Regions from separate parts of the Homo sapiens genome. Here regions 2 and 3 are each linked to region 1. The links are contacts of gene promoters, found by promoter capture Hi-C in blood cells and fetal thymus (Javierre and others, 2016). All regions are on one chromosome and are shown on one strand. The core of a region is centred on a gene start or on the middle of the fragment in contact, and the rest is flanking DNA. Distances in the headings are between cores, read along the strand shown.

Region 1 (4,309 bases), core at 1,311-3,810:
TGGCCAGACCGCTTCACTTGTAAAAGAAATTAGGCTAATAAGAAGGTGTAGTTTTTGAGAAATGAAATTTAACTTTAGCCTTTTCACTAGTAAATAGTCACATCTCATTTTCTTCCTTTGTAAAATGGGGTTACTACTGGCCCTACCTCATATTCTATGAGAATGAGTTTGTAGCTGTTTCAAATCATGAAGTGCATAGTATCACATGTGATAGAATATTTATAACTTTTTATTAGATGCTTAATGTTCAATTAAGTAATTTTGATGTGAAAAATAAAAGTAATAAAAGTATCTTAAAAATAGCATAAGAATTTTCATATTTTTAAACAAGGCAGTTTTGTAGTCCCTTAAGATTAAATACAACTGCTCCTTTTTTTTTTAAACTGAGGCCTTGCGATATTTTGTGTGAATAGATATGCCCTAGGAGTTCAGAAAAAGTTAAAAGTATGTTTTCTAATTAAATGCAGTGCACATTCCTGGATCAATATTCAAAGACTGGTCATAACCTGCTGTGTTAAAATAATCACATATGCTCTTTTTCATCAGATTTGTTGATGATGTAAATAAAATGTGTAAATATATTAGTAAATGTTAATATTCATGTATTTTAAGTTAAGGTTATAAAATTTGTCACAATGTGTTTTTTTATTCAAGTGAAAACAGATGTGTGCAGCTATTTTGAATATTGGTTTATAAACATTCATATTCTTTATCAAACGAACCTGTAGTTTTTGTGTTTCATTCCACTAGAGTTAACCTGAAGGGAACGGTTCAAGGGACTGTATTCGAGGTCTGTATGGCTCCAGGGCCTACGTGTATCCCTTTCTGTTATGCCACATACATTAAATGGCAATGCAAGGTGAGAGCCAGTTGAAACTCTTAGTAATTTAGGAGAGGAAAATGAGAGTAGTTATACTAGAGCAGTTACTCAAAAGAGTTGATTTTTTTTTTTTTTGAGACGGAGTCTCGCTCTGTCTCCCAGGCTGGAGTGCAGTGGCGCCATCTCGGCTCACTGCAAGCTCCGCCTCCTGGGTTCACGCCATTCTCCTGCCTCAGTCTCCCGAGTAGCTGGGACTACAGGCGCCCGCCACCACGCCCGGCTAATTTTTTGTATTTTTAGTAGAGACGGGGTTTCACCGTGTTAGCCAGGATGGTCTTGGTCTCCTGACCTGGTGATCCGCCTGCCTCGGCCTCCCAAAGTGCTGGGATTACAGGCGTGAGCCACTGCGCCCGGCCAAGAGTTGATGTTTTAAAAATTATAAAAGAGAAATGACAATTTGAAGGTATTTTTAAGGATTTATTTTTAAACATTATCCTTCCTTTCATTGTCTTAACAGTAAATTACTTCATCTTTGCTCATTCATATGTATTTTCACATTACTGAATCCCTAACACCCAGTTTGGGGTTTGCTTTGCCTTTTTTCACTTAACCTTATATGGGATTTTTTCTTGCAAGTTTAATTTTTATAAGTTTATTGGCTTCATAATGTATTGAATTCATCTGTCATAACCACCTCCATATTACTAGACTGGGAAGTTCATAATTTTTTTCAGTATTACCAATAGATATTATTGTCAATTGCGGTATCACATTTTCTTTCGTTTAGATTACGTCTTTAGGATAAATATCTGGAGCTCAGATTACTAGGTCAAAGGGTAGAGTTTATTTTTATGACTACAAGTTTTGTCATTTTTGGTAAGATATATCACAATTGACAATGAGGCAAACAAATCAACTAGCCCCCTCCTGCTCTTTCTTCCCAGCAAACTCCTTCCCCAAACTAGTTACTTGAATTTGAGAAACAGTATGAGGTTTTGCCTTTTGGAGACATTATTATTTGAGCCAAGTTTAGGTTATACAGATTTTTTAAAAAAATAACATGATTTGGCAAGATCATGATGAACCTCCTTTTCTTTGAGTAAATTAAAGTACTACTGGCAAATAATAAACTGGTCTTAGGAGGGATGGAAGGCGGATAAGCCTTAATGGAAGTAGAAGTGATCTGATACTGGAGACCCTGAGAGCTTGTCTCTGGCTTATTTTAGCATCCGGGAAAGCCTTGAATATTATGAAAGATAGATTGTAGCCCGATGTCACAGAGCCTTCTTACTTAAGTTTGGCTCAGCAGTCTGGCAATTCCCGCCTGAGTCTTCGCTATCCTGGCTACTGCAAAGCTGGGTAATTTAAATTGAGTGGCACTGATAAATGCTCAAAGAACTTGGCAAAGCTTAAAGATACTTCCTTTCCGCTGGTCTACGGACGTGAAGAATGAGACTTCCAGTTTCCAAGGAATTTGCTGCATAGACTCTATCGCCGGTTTCAAAAGTCAAACTGAGACGACTTTCTACTTTAAACAAACACTAGGGATTTGCTGGAGTGGCGACAACCTTCCGCCGCGTACCTTGAGCCCTTGTTTTTTTTTTTTTTTTTCGGAGACTTCCATTGGATGCCGAAGTTCTCGCCCCCTCACCTCGCACCGGGACTGGTTGATTCCTGGCCTTGGCGGGTGATTGGTCGAGCTCGCTGGGCTATTGGGCGCTGGGAGTCGAGGGGGCGGGAGGCGGGAATTCGTCTCGGGTTGTGTGGTTGAGGGGTCTGGTGGGTCGAGGAAAGGTAACGGCGGCCCCAGTCCTGCACACAAGGCCGGGGAAGTAGCAGCACCCCCAGGAAGAGGGAGGAGGAAGGGCTCGTGCCCTTTCTTCTCTTCCAGGGCTCCGCTTTATTTGCTCTCAGAAGTCGGTTTCCTTTCCTTTTCTTCAGTGAATCGGAGCTCAGAGCGTTGCTTCGGTTTCCCTCCAGACAGGCAAGTCGGAGGGAAGTCCACGGAAAGGGCTTGAGTTCTTCTGCACAGCCTGCGGGCCCATGGGTGGTGACTGGATCACCAGGGTCTCGGGGATCTCAACTGGCTGGGGGAGGAGGGAGATACGGGGCAGAAAACCTGAGGAGGGAGCCTATCCTTACCTCCTTTGAGCGCAGGCCTGTTCTTAGCCCGGGCGCTGCGTTAATTCTTGGCGGGAGGCAGAGGGGTGTGTTTATCCTTTATGCAATGTTTGGGGGAAGCTACCCCATTTTGACACTATTGTTGCCACAGCCGGGGTACAGGACGGGCTGATTTCTAGATTATATCTGAGTAACTAGGCCAGCGTTGAGTTGTTGATTCATATTAAGAGGTTAGATTCCACCATACCTCATTCTCAGAGCTTTACAGATAGAATCGCAAAATGTTAGAGCTGGAAAATACCCTAGAATAATGGTTCTTCTTTTGGAGCACACAAGCAGTGGTGAATGTTATTATTGGCTTCATAATCTATTGAATTGCTATTTTAACCATCTCTTCGTCCCCAGGTTGAATTTACAATTTTTTCCCACGACTGCAAATAATTCCTTATTTAATAACAGTGCATGTAATTTCCCCCGCTATTTTGATTTCCTTGAGATATATTTACGGGAAGAGAAATCTATGGACTTTTTCTTCAGAAAAATGCAATCATGTACAGAAACTTATGCTTGCAATTTCAAGAGGTCATTGTCTCTGAATTACATCCGTGGATCCTAGGTTAAGAAAAGTGGTTTAGAAGAGGTGAGGATTAAAGTGATCCTCATCTGTATCAGATCCTGGGTTAGGTACATTCTGCCCTGGCTAATTTTCATAAAAACCCTGTCAGGTAAGTAGTAGTATTTCAATTCCATATATGGAGAAACAAGCTCTGAGAAGTTAAGTGATTCACACAGTGGAATTCAAACTTAGGATTGCCTTACTCCAAAGCCCATCCTGTTTCTATAATACTCTACTGATCTTCAAATAACATTTTTGAGTGCCTACTATGTGCCAAGGCATTCTCTTTCTTATAACAGCCTTTAAATTAAATTAGGGGTTATCACAGGTAAGGATCTTAGACTAGAGAAGTAAAAAGATATGTCAAAGATAACATACCTGAGTCAAAGATAACATACCAGGCAGTATACCAAAACCTGGTATAGAACCTATGCTTCCTGACTTCTGGTCAACAGCTTTTTTCTTCTAACTGGAGGACTGCAGAAAGGGGTAACACAAAGGGGAAGAACTGGAGAAAGAGTGATGCTACGGAGTTGTAGAGAGAGAGGCCTCAGGAACTTATTTGTTTCTGTAGGTTGATTACATCTGATCTAACTGTTACAAGAGCTCATGTTTAATCTGGTATGTACTTTATCATATTTGCACATTATTTCACTTAATCATTACCACAATCCTATGGGGTACATGCAGTCACTGTGGCTTAGAGAAGGTAACTAACTTTCCCGAAGTCACACAACTAATACCTGGCAGAG
Region 2 (4,495 bases), core at 1,867-4,366, 1.2 Mb after region 1:
CTTCAAGTATACATATCTTTGGCCAGGCACAGTGGCTCACACATGTAATTCTAGCACTTTGGGAGGCCAAGACAGGCAGATCACCTGAGGTCAGGAGTTCAAGACCAGCCTGGCCAAATGGCAAAACCCCGTCTTTGCTAAAAATACAAAATTTGGCCAGGCCTGGTGGCGCTCGCCTGTAATCCCAGCTACTTGGGAGGCCAAGGCAGGAGAATCGCTTGAATCTGGGAGACAGAGGAGGAGGTGGAGGCTGCAGCGAGCCGAGACGGCGCCACTGCACTCCAACCTGGGCAACAGAGTGAGACTCCATCTAAAAAAAAAAAAAAAGTATACATATCTTCAAACCATATTAGATTATAAACTCACTCTAGTAAGTATAGACATTCTTTGTCAAAGAATGCCAAAAACAGAGACATATACTATGACACTTACTTTGAAACTTTCTGACAGAGACCTAGACTAAGAGATTCCTTTTATAGATAACACATGGATACATAGACGGGAACACCACACACTGGTGCCTATCAGAGTTGGGTGGGAGCGGGGAGAGGGTCAGGAAAAATAACTAATGGGGACTATGCTTAATACCTGGGTGATGAAATAATCTGTACAACAAACCCCTGTGACATGAGTTTCCCTATATAACAAACCTGCACATGTACCCTTGAACTTAAAAGTTAAAAGAGATACATTTTACATCACTGTCTGGTAAATATATACATACACATGAACATATTTATGTGCATGTCATGAAACAATACAAACTCTCAGCTATATTTTCTAATTTTCTATTATATTCTATTTCATTTTCTTTCTTTTTTTTTTTTTTTTTGGAGACAGAGTCTTGCTGTGTCGCCCAGGCTAGGGTGCAGTGGCGCGATCTCAGCTCACTGCAAGTTCCACCTCCCAGGTTCACGTCATTCTCCTGACTCAGCCTCCCGAGTAGCTGGGACTACAGGGGCCACCATACCCGGCTAATTTTTTGTATTTTTAGTAGAGACAGGGTTTCACCGTTTTAGCCAGGATGGTCTCGATCTCCTGATCTCGTGATCCGCCTGCCTGGGCCTCCCAAAGTGCTGGGATTACAGGCATGAGCCACTGCGCCCGGCCTCTATTTCATTTTCTACTACAACTCCTGACCCACTAAACTGATTTAACAATCCACTAATTTGTTAAACCTGGAGTTTGAAAACACTGCTCTTCAGGATTTAGCATAGTGCTCTTCACGTACTCTGTAAATGTGCTGAATACGTCAACTTAACTCTCCAATTCTTCATTTGGTCTTGGCAATTATTATTATTCATCCCATAAAGCCAACAGTTAAAAGATTTTTACAAAAGTAACCACTGTTCATAAAGAAAACCTAAATGTTAGTATTCTGAGTAATCTTTTCTTCAGCTATTGGGTTTATCTGAAATGTGCTTACGTGACAGCCTGGGGGCGAACCACAACTCCACCAGTACAACGACTGGGTCTTCTTGGGGAATCTGTAGCCATAGCTTCATTCATAAAACCTGTTTCCAGAACAAACAAACAAACAAAAAACAGAAAAACATGGATCGTTGTTGGGGGTAGGGAGGAAGATTTATGATTACTCACTAGAGATCCCTTGTCAAAAATGCCTCAAATGTAGGAAACTTTCCCAGAAATTCCTGTTACACCAGAAAGGGAAAAAAGGAGGAAGTAGGTTTTTAATTTTTTTCAAATTATAATGAGGGGTTTGGGGGGTTATTATTATTTTTGAGATAGAGTCTCGCTCTGTCGCCCAGGCTGGAGTTCAGTGGCACGATCTCTGCTCATGGCAATCTCCGCCTCCCAGGCTCAAGCAATTCTCCTGCCTCAGCCTCCTGAGTAGCTGGGATTACAGGCGAGCGCCACCATGCCGAGCTAAATTTTATATTTTTTTGTAGCGACGGGGTTTCACCATGTTGCCAAGGCTGGTCTCGAACTCCTGAGCTCAAGCAATCCATCCGCCTTAGCCTCCCAAAGTGCTGGGATTATAGGCTTGAGCCACCGCGCCCATCCTGTTTTGTTTTTTAATAGGACCAGGTCTCAGAACCACAAAACAATGTAAGGAAGACTCCTGCTGTACCCCTTGGTCTGTTGTTAACATAAATTACAAGGGTGAGAGAACCAGATCATGGGATGGGAATTTACTGCAATTTTATGTTGAGATAGTGAAAATACACATGGTACAATATTTCAAGACCAAACGGAACAAGTGACATGATATCACTCTACCTTCCAATTAAACCTGTTGGGAATCTATGAGTAAATCACAATTTAAATCACATTCGTAACCCCCTGCTACTATAACAAATAAGTCAAGTAATTATTTGACTAGTAGCAAGTAGTCAAATAACTAACATAAACTAATACGTTGTTACAGCCCTTTACCCTTTCCCGTCACATCAGTAAATCCTGATCCTAGAATGTTTCATGACCCTCTGAATCACTGAGATTTTAAGAGCATGGAGTCGGCTTGGTTAAGGTTAAAAGAGGACTGACAGCAATATCAAAGATCTCTTACAGGGCTCAGGGAAGCCCACAACCTGGAACTCATCTTGAAGGCACCGAAAACCATTTTTAAGTAGGGAGCATTCACACCTGATGTGAAAACTCTAAACCTGTGCGCCCCACCTCCTACAACCAAAACACCCTCTGCCCCAAGGAGCAGAGCCACCACCTCCTCAGAGGATACCTGCACCTCCAGCCCCTCAGCCCTCTCATTCTCATCCCATTCTTGCTTTCTCGAACCACAGTCTCCCAAGCCCTGCCCTTTAAGGGCCCTGTCTCCTGGGGACGACCCTCGCCAGCCACTCAGGCCCCAGTCTCCTGAAAGACACTCGTACGGCGCTGCCCACTTAACCTCCAACACGGAGCCACCGCTGCCCCCGGCCGCCCTCCGGCCCCTTGCACTGTTCCCCTCCCCCTCCAGTATCGACACCTCTCTCCTGTCGAATTCCTGCCAGCCCGACCCAGTCCCCTCACGCCGCCAGTCCCTCGTCCTCCCCAAGCCTCCCCAAAGCCAAAGCCCTGCCAGCCCTCTCACCGGCCGCCCCGCCGGTTAACGCTAGTCTCCAGCTCTAGGCTCACTGTTTGGAGTCTCCCCGAGTGATTGACGGCAGCCACTTCCTACCACGCCTCAGCGGAACCACCCCCTCTAGCCAATCCCAGAAGCAAACCGGCTATGGCCGGGCACCGCCCTTGGAGGTCAGCTTCGCCAACCAGCAAGTAGGAAAGAGGCGGACCCGCCTTCTGAATGTGTCCAATCCGCTGGGGCTGGAGGGAAAACACAACAGCATGTAAGTTCGGGTGAAGCCGAGGTGTCAGGTTCGGTTGCAAACGCAGGCAGCTGGGGAATAATTACGAACATGTACATTTTTTTTGGAAGACAGAACCTTCGTGGCTTTGAAAAGAAAAGCAACATGATCCAGACTCCTGTCCCGCTCACGTGAGCGTTTCAGGTTGGAGCCGGAGGACAGGGAGACTGGTCTGTTTACATCGAATTCTCGCGACAGCTGGTTCCAAGCTCGGAGCACGTGGACATGGCAGCTGCCAATCACTTTTAGCTGGCCACTCACCCGTCCCACACCCGCCTTCTGCCCAGCCCTTGGCGATGTGTTTACCTTCCGGGAGCCTAGGCTGGCTCGCGCCGGCGATCAGCCGAGGAGGGGTTGATCTGAATAAGGGGCACGGCCGGTAATCTCAACAATTTGAGCTAGGTTTGTAGACCACTTCTTGCTTCAGTTTCCATCTCCCTTATTGTTGAAGATCGAGATCTCGCCATTGTCATTTCATCAGTTCATTTATTAATATAAGTAGAATAATACTGACTGACTTCTTGAACACTCAGCACAGGCCTTCGTATACTTCATATACAATACTCTAATGTATTATCAAATTTAATGCCAATGACAGGTCCGTGAGGGTATAGCTTATTAACAGGCGTGGTGGGCTGGGCGTGGTGGCTCACGCCTGCAATCCCAACATTTTGGGAAGCCTAGGCGGGAAGATCGCTTGAGGCCAGGAGTTCTAGAACAGCCTGGACAACATGAAGAAACCCCGTCTCTACTAAAAATAGCCAGGTGTGGTGGCCAATGCCTGTAATCCTAGCTACTGGGGAGGCTGAGGCGGAAGAATTGCTTGAACCCAGGAGGCGGAGATTGCAGTGAGCCTATAGATCACGCCATTGCCCTCCAGCACTTTAGCCTGGGTGACAGAGAGTCCCTCTCAAGACAGATAGATAGATAGATAGATAGATAGATAGATAGATAGATAGATACATACATACATACATACATACATACATACATACATACATACATAAAATTTTAAAAAATTTTAAAAAAAGAAATGAAAGAAAAGGCCGGGCACGGTGGCTCACACCTGTAATCCCAGCACTTTGGGAGGCTGAGAGGGGCAGATCACTTGAGGTCAGGAGGTCAAGACCAGCCTTGCCAACTTTGTGAAACTCTGTCTCTACTAAAAATAC
Region 3 (4,697 bases), core at 512-3,011, 1.3 Mb after region 1:
ACGTTATTATGCTGCCATAAACAAGGTTTTTTCCCACCACTGGAAGTATTGTCTTCTTTGCTCTAACAAAGATGCATGCCATTTATTCACTGCAATAGATAAGCAATTATAATGCTGTAAGATGATTCTGTAAATGTTGGGCACAGAAATCCTGCCTGCTTTACAAACATTTAAAAAAACTTAGATGAAACTACAACTACACCGAAATTTTTAGACATTTAAGACCTTTATTTCCTTCTAGCATACAGTAATTCCTTGCCTTTTCTTATTTTGATGGGCAGTTACAATTTATAAGTACTTTTTAAACTAGGAACAACCGGTTGGGAACTATCTGAAAGCAATCAGCTAAGGCAATTTCCAAAAAGAAAACCCAAGCAGAATCTAACGCACACCCTTAACACGGGGCCAGTTTTTAAGAGGTAACAACACGTTCCGCGTTTTTAGTTTTCATAAGCAGTACAGGTTTATGATCCTAAAAACATCTCACCATCATTACAACGGAATTCCTTCCAAAACTTTAAGTTGCCGGATGGTTACGTTTCAGCCCTTCTAAATTAGCTTACGCTTTACTCCAGCAACCAACCCCAGCAATCCCGGGTCAATCTGGAGAACTGACACCACCGGTAGGAGGCAACCGAGAGGGATAAGACTTTCAGGAGCAGAATTATGACAGATTCTCTAAGGAAACACTACAGTTTTTCCTTCGCCTGGCCCAGGTGCAACATCGATTTATCTTTTGGCCAAAATCTGGCGCCAGGTTTCAAACACGTTTCCTCTGGTTGCCACCAAAGTGAAGCAGGGAAGGGAGTGGACTGCTTCCCATTGATCCTTGGAGGATGGAAATAAAGCAAGAATAGGCTGCAGGGAGACGGCAATCCTATCTTCCCCAAGGCCGCTTGGTTTGCCCGGACCTCCACCCAGCAAAGCGCTATTACAGCTTTTAGTCACTTCCATCAGTGTATACTTTGGTTGCGCTCTGGGTGCCGGGGGCCCACGCGGGGCTGGTGCCATAAAAGCCCTGAACTGCCTGAAAAAGGGGCGGGCGCCAAACAAGCCAGGGAACTTACCCAGTTTCTTCCACATGGCAAGGTGACAAGCGAGAAAGCCTTTGCGGATGGCAGCGCAAACCTTAGCCGGCTCGGACGAGGTGAAACCCTTCTGCTTCTTGATGAAACCCCACAAGTGCTCCCGGGCAAACTGTGCCGCCTCCCGCCCGCCGTGCCCGTCGCACACGGCGAAAAAGGCCACGGAGGAACGGCGGCGGCAGCAGCGGCTAGGTGCCGGCGAGGCCCCGGCGTCCGGGAGAGGGTCGCGAGCCTCTCGGGCTGCCACCGCTGGGCCTTTCCCCGAGACTTCGCCGCCGGGAAGGGCGGCCGGCGACGGCCGCGGAGGCAACGGCTGAGACAGCGACCGCCGCGGCGAGGGCTTTTCTTCAGCCGTCGGTTCGGGCTCCACAACGATTTGAGTAACGTCCTCCATGTACTTCCTCCCGCCCTGGTCGGAGAAGACGCTCACTCCCAGCGAGTACAGCCCCGCCATGGCCGGCTGGCCGGGATCCCGCCGGTCCCACGCAGCCCGCCGAATCCGGCGGCGGGAGACACACTAGGCGCTCGCCGGCCAACTATTGTTTATCTTCGACGACGCCGAGAAGGGGGAGGGGGCGGACCCGGAGAAGGGGGGGCGCGCGATGTCTGGACTTGTCCGCGAGAGCTGGGCCGGAGCGCCGGAGCGAGCAGAGCCAGGCAGTTGCGCCTGCGCACTGCGCTTCCCCCCACCGCCCGCGCCCACCACACAAATCAGGCGTTCTCCCCCGCTGACGTCACTCGGCTCTCTAAGCTCGACCAATCCGGAGTCGAGTGGAGCGAGCCCGCCCTCCGTCCCCGCCTTCGCTCCCGCCTGCGACGGCCGCGCTGCCTCCTCCCGCCGCTGGCGCTGGGCCCGCGCATCTCCTAGTTTGCTTCCCCTACGCCGCGGGCGTTTTCGCCCTCCGGGTTGTCGGCAGTTGTTGATCCTTTCCCGAGCGGCTTGGTCTGTGTAGGCTTTTGGCTCAGTCCAGCGTTCTTAATGCGGCCTGCTGGCCTTGGCGTCCCGCTGCTTGCTTTGCTAGGAAGGTGGTGTGGGCTCGGGCCCCCAGCGAGTGGAGAATGAAGGGAGAAGAGTTCACCCTCCTCCTAAGCGAAATGGCGGGAAACCTCCCTTCCAAAGGGCGATTGTGAGCTGGCCGGAACAAGTGCTGCACCCTTGAGCTGGATCTGGGTGGGACGTATTCGACTGGGAATGGAGGAGGGAGGGAGTCCAGTTCTGTTGTTTAAAAAGCACTTAGGAAATTTCCACCGTCAGCTGCACAGTCTCGGTTCACATAACTAGGTATGTCAGAGACGTAAGAGGGCTGTATTCTAACGAATTCCTAGGCAGATCTTTTCAGCTTTTGTTAAAGGTAGTGCTCGTTCCGACCAGCTCTGGATACAGCATTTTATTCCTGCGGTATCACTTCAAGTTATCACTTGAAAATAACTGACAAACACTGCCAAGAGCCCCAGTGCTCTAACGGTTTGGTGATCGTCCCCTCTCTTCACCGAGTCGGTCACAATCCCAACGCTAAAACCTTTGCACGGATTTTCATGGAGTTAAGCCGCAGAGCGAGGAATACACTAGTATTTGCTCAGTAGCATACGTTTTGTAGTTGAATCACTTTAAAGTTCACTTTTCCCGTTTTTGGCCATTTCTTCATCAATCTGTACTTTCCTGTAAAACCTTTGAGATTTTCAAATGGCCTAAAAACAGTATGGAAACGGGAATGGGGGGAATGTACATACAGTTGGCACAAGAAATAAAAATAGAAAAAATCTTTATATCAATAAAAATATAAATAAGCAAAATCAGCTCAAGAAAATGTAGAAAATCTGAATAGATCAACTAAGTAAAAATAAATACAATTGAAGATATTCATTACCCCAAAAAGCACTAGACCAGATGGTTCCAGGGCATGGAAACGCTTGAAAAAAAAAATCCCAGCTTGTTTGGAGAGGTAATCATAACCCTGTTAGTAAAACCTAAGCATTATGAACACTAAAAGGAAACCTACAGACCCTGTTTTGTAACGATGAATACAAAAATCCTAAATGAAATATTAGCATTGTAATTAGGGAGCAGCCTCCATATCACAAGAACGGTTTGTGTAGCTCTATATTATTCATCTTACCGTTCACCACGTTTGACCCAAGAGATTACCAAAAGATAATTCCATCATGCTTTATAATCCTTTCCACCTCAATCACAACCAGTAGGATCTGCGTCATCCGTTTATTGCTCTAGTATCTCCATGCTACTCTCTGCTTCAATTACTCTGATTCCATATCCCACTCTTCACCAAATATCCTAACCATTTCACTTCACACTTTTGATTTCAACATCTGCCATCAACCACTTCCCCTTTATTCTTAGCCTCTTCTGTAAATGTTCCCATCAACTTCCCATTCCAACTGAAACCCGGTTTATCACTTAGCAAAACTACCTCCCTTGCAACTTTTCAAGTACAGGAGGTTATTTTTCCTCTCATAGGTATTCTTATCTGTGGCCTATTCCTCATATTACCTCCAAACCACTTCTCTTCCTTCCTCCCTCAGAAACTCAAGTGCTTTTAAAATTTATGCAGACTGCTGCTACTCTGAGATGCTGTCAGCTACTGATCCCTGGTATCTCCCCATCATTTTTCATAGCCCACCGTCTTTGTTTCTTCCACTATTCGTGTCACTTCTCATCCACTTTATTTTTCAAGATACTATCCATATCTTCCATACTGTCTCCTTTTCAAGAGTTTTACTGCTCCAACAATTATCCTCCTTGCTCCTGCCTCATCAATCTCTCCTTTCTCTCTGTCTTTCTAAATGTTAAAGACGGGGTCTATGATGCCCAGGCTGGGGTGCAGTGATTATTCACAGGCGCAATTATAGCTCACTGCAGCCTCAAACTCCTGACCTCAAGTGATCCTCCAACTTTAGCCCCCAAGTAGCTGAGATTAAGGCACATGTCACCACACCCAGACTAATTTCTCCTCTTCTGGGTCATTTCCATTTGTGTATAAATATGTTCTGTTTTTTTTCTTTTTTTTGAGACAGAGTCTCCCTCCATCACCCAGGCTGGAGTGCAGTGACGTGATCTCGGCTCACTAGCAACCTCTGCCTCCTGGGATCAAGGAATTCTCGTGCCTCGGCCTCCCTAGTAGCTGGGACTACAGGTGTGAGCCACCATATCTGGCCACTATTACCTCTTACCTGGACCACTACACTCGCCTCCTCACAAATCTTTCTTTCACTCTTGGCCCTCTGCTATCCTTTTTCCGCTAGGTACTATAGCGATCTTTCAAAAACCATGAATCAGATCAAGTCATTCTTTTACTCAATACATGGCTTCCATCACATTTAATATAATGTAGGCCAGGCACAGTGGCTCACACCTGTTATTCCAGCACTTTGGGAGGCCAACGCGGGCAGATCACTTAAGGCCAGGAGTGGAGACCAGCCTGGCCAACATGGCAAAACACTGTCACTTCTAAAAATACAAAAATTAGCCAGTCATGGTGGCGTGCACTTGTAGTTCCAGCTACTAGGGGGAGAGGCTGAGGCAGGAGAATCACCTGAACCTGGGAGGCAGAGGCTGCAGTGAGCTCAGATCACACCACTACCTTGAAGCCTGGG

The links. The method cuts DNA at HindIII sites, captures the fragments that hold promoters and counts their contacts. A CHiCAGO score of 5 or more calls a contact.
Region 2: a contact is called between the fragment with the promoter of BCAS3 here and the fragment with the promoter of BRIP1 in region 1, in 1 of 17 cell types (M0 macrophages). The highest score is 9.2, in M0 macrophages.
Region 3: the fragment with the promoter of PPM1D here is called in contact with the fragment with the promoter of BRIP1 in region 1 in 1 of 17 cell types (non-activated CD4 T cells); the score reaches 5.2 in non-activated CD4 T cells.

What each region holds. Positions count from the first base shown.
Region 1 is chr17:61,861,779-61,866,087 of GRCh38, reverse strand. It overlaps BRIP1 (BRCA1 interacting DNA helicase 1), which reads left to right and starts at 2,560. Exons shown (of 20, transcript NM_032043.3): 1 at 2,560-2,804. It overlaps INTS2 (integrator complex subunit 2), which reads left to right. Exons shown (of 25, transcript NM_001351695.2): 25 at 1-721. The HindIII fragment of the contact is 2,381 bases long and covers 2,231-4,309 here.
Region 2 is chr17:60,676,472-60,680,966 of GRCh38, reverse strand. BCAS3 (BCAS3 microtubule associated cell migration factor) reads right to left here and starts at 3,116. Exons shown (of 24, transcript NM_017679.5): 1 at 3,053-3,116; 2 at 1,427-1,514. The coding sequence starts at 1,509. RefSeq lists enhancers at 3,075-3,224, 3,395-3,564 and a silencer at 2,983-3,736. The HindIII fragment of the contact is 12,302 bases long and covers 1-4,495 here.
Region 3 is chr17:60,597,257-60,601,953 of GRCh38, reverse strand. It overlaps PPM1D (protein phosphatase, Mg2+/Mn2+ dependent 1D), which reads right to left and starts at 1,761. Exons shown (of 6, transcript NM_003620.4): 1 at 1,068-1,761. The coding sequence starts at 1,539. RefSeq lists enhancers at 1,642-1,691, 852-1,839, 1,840-2,828. The HindIII fragment of the contact is 9,172 bases long and covers 1-4,697 here.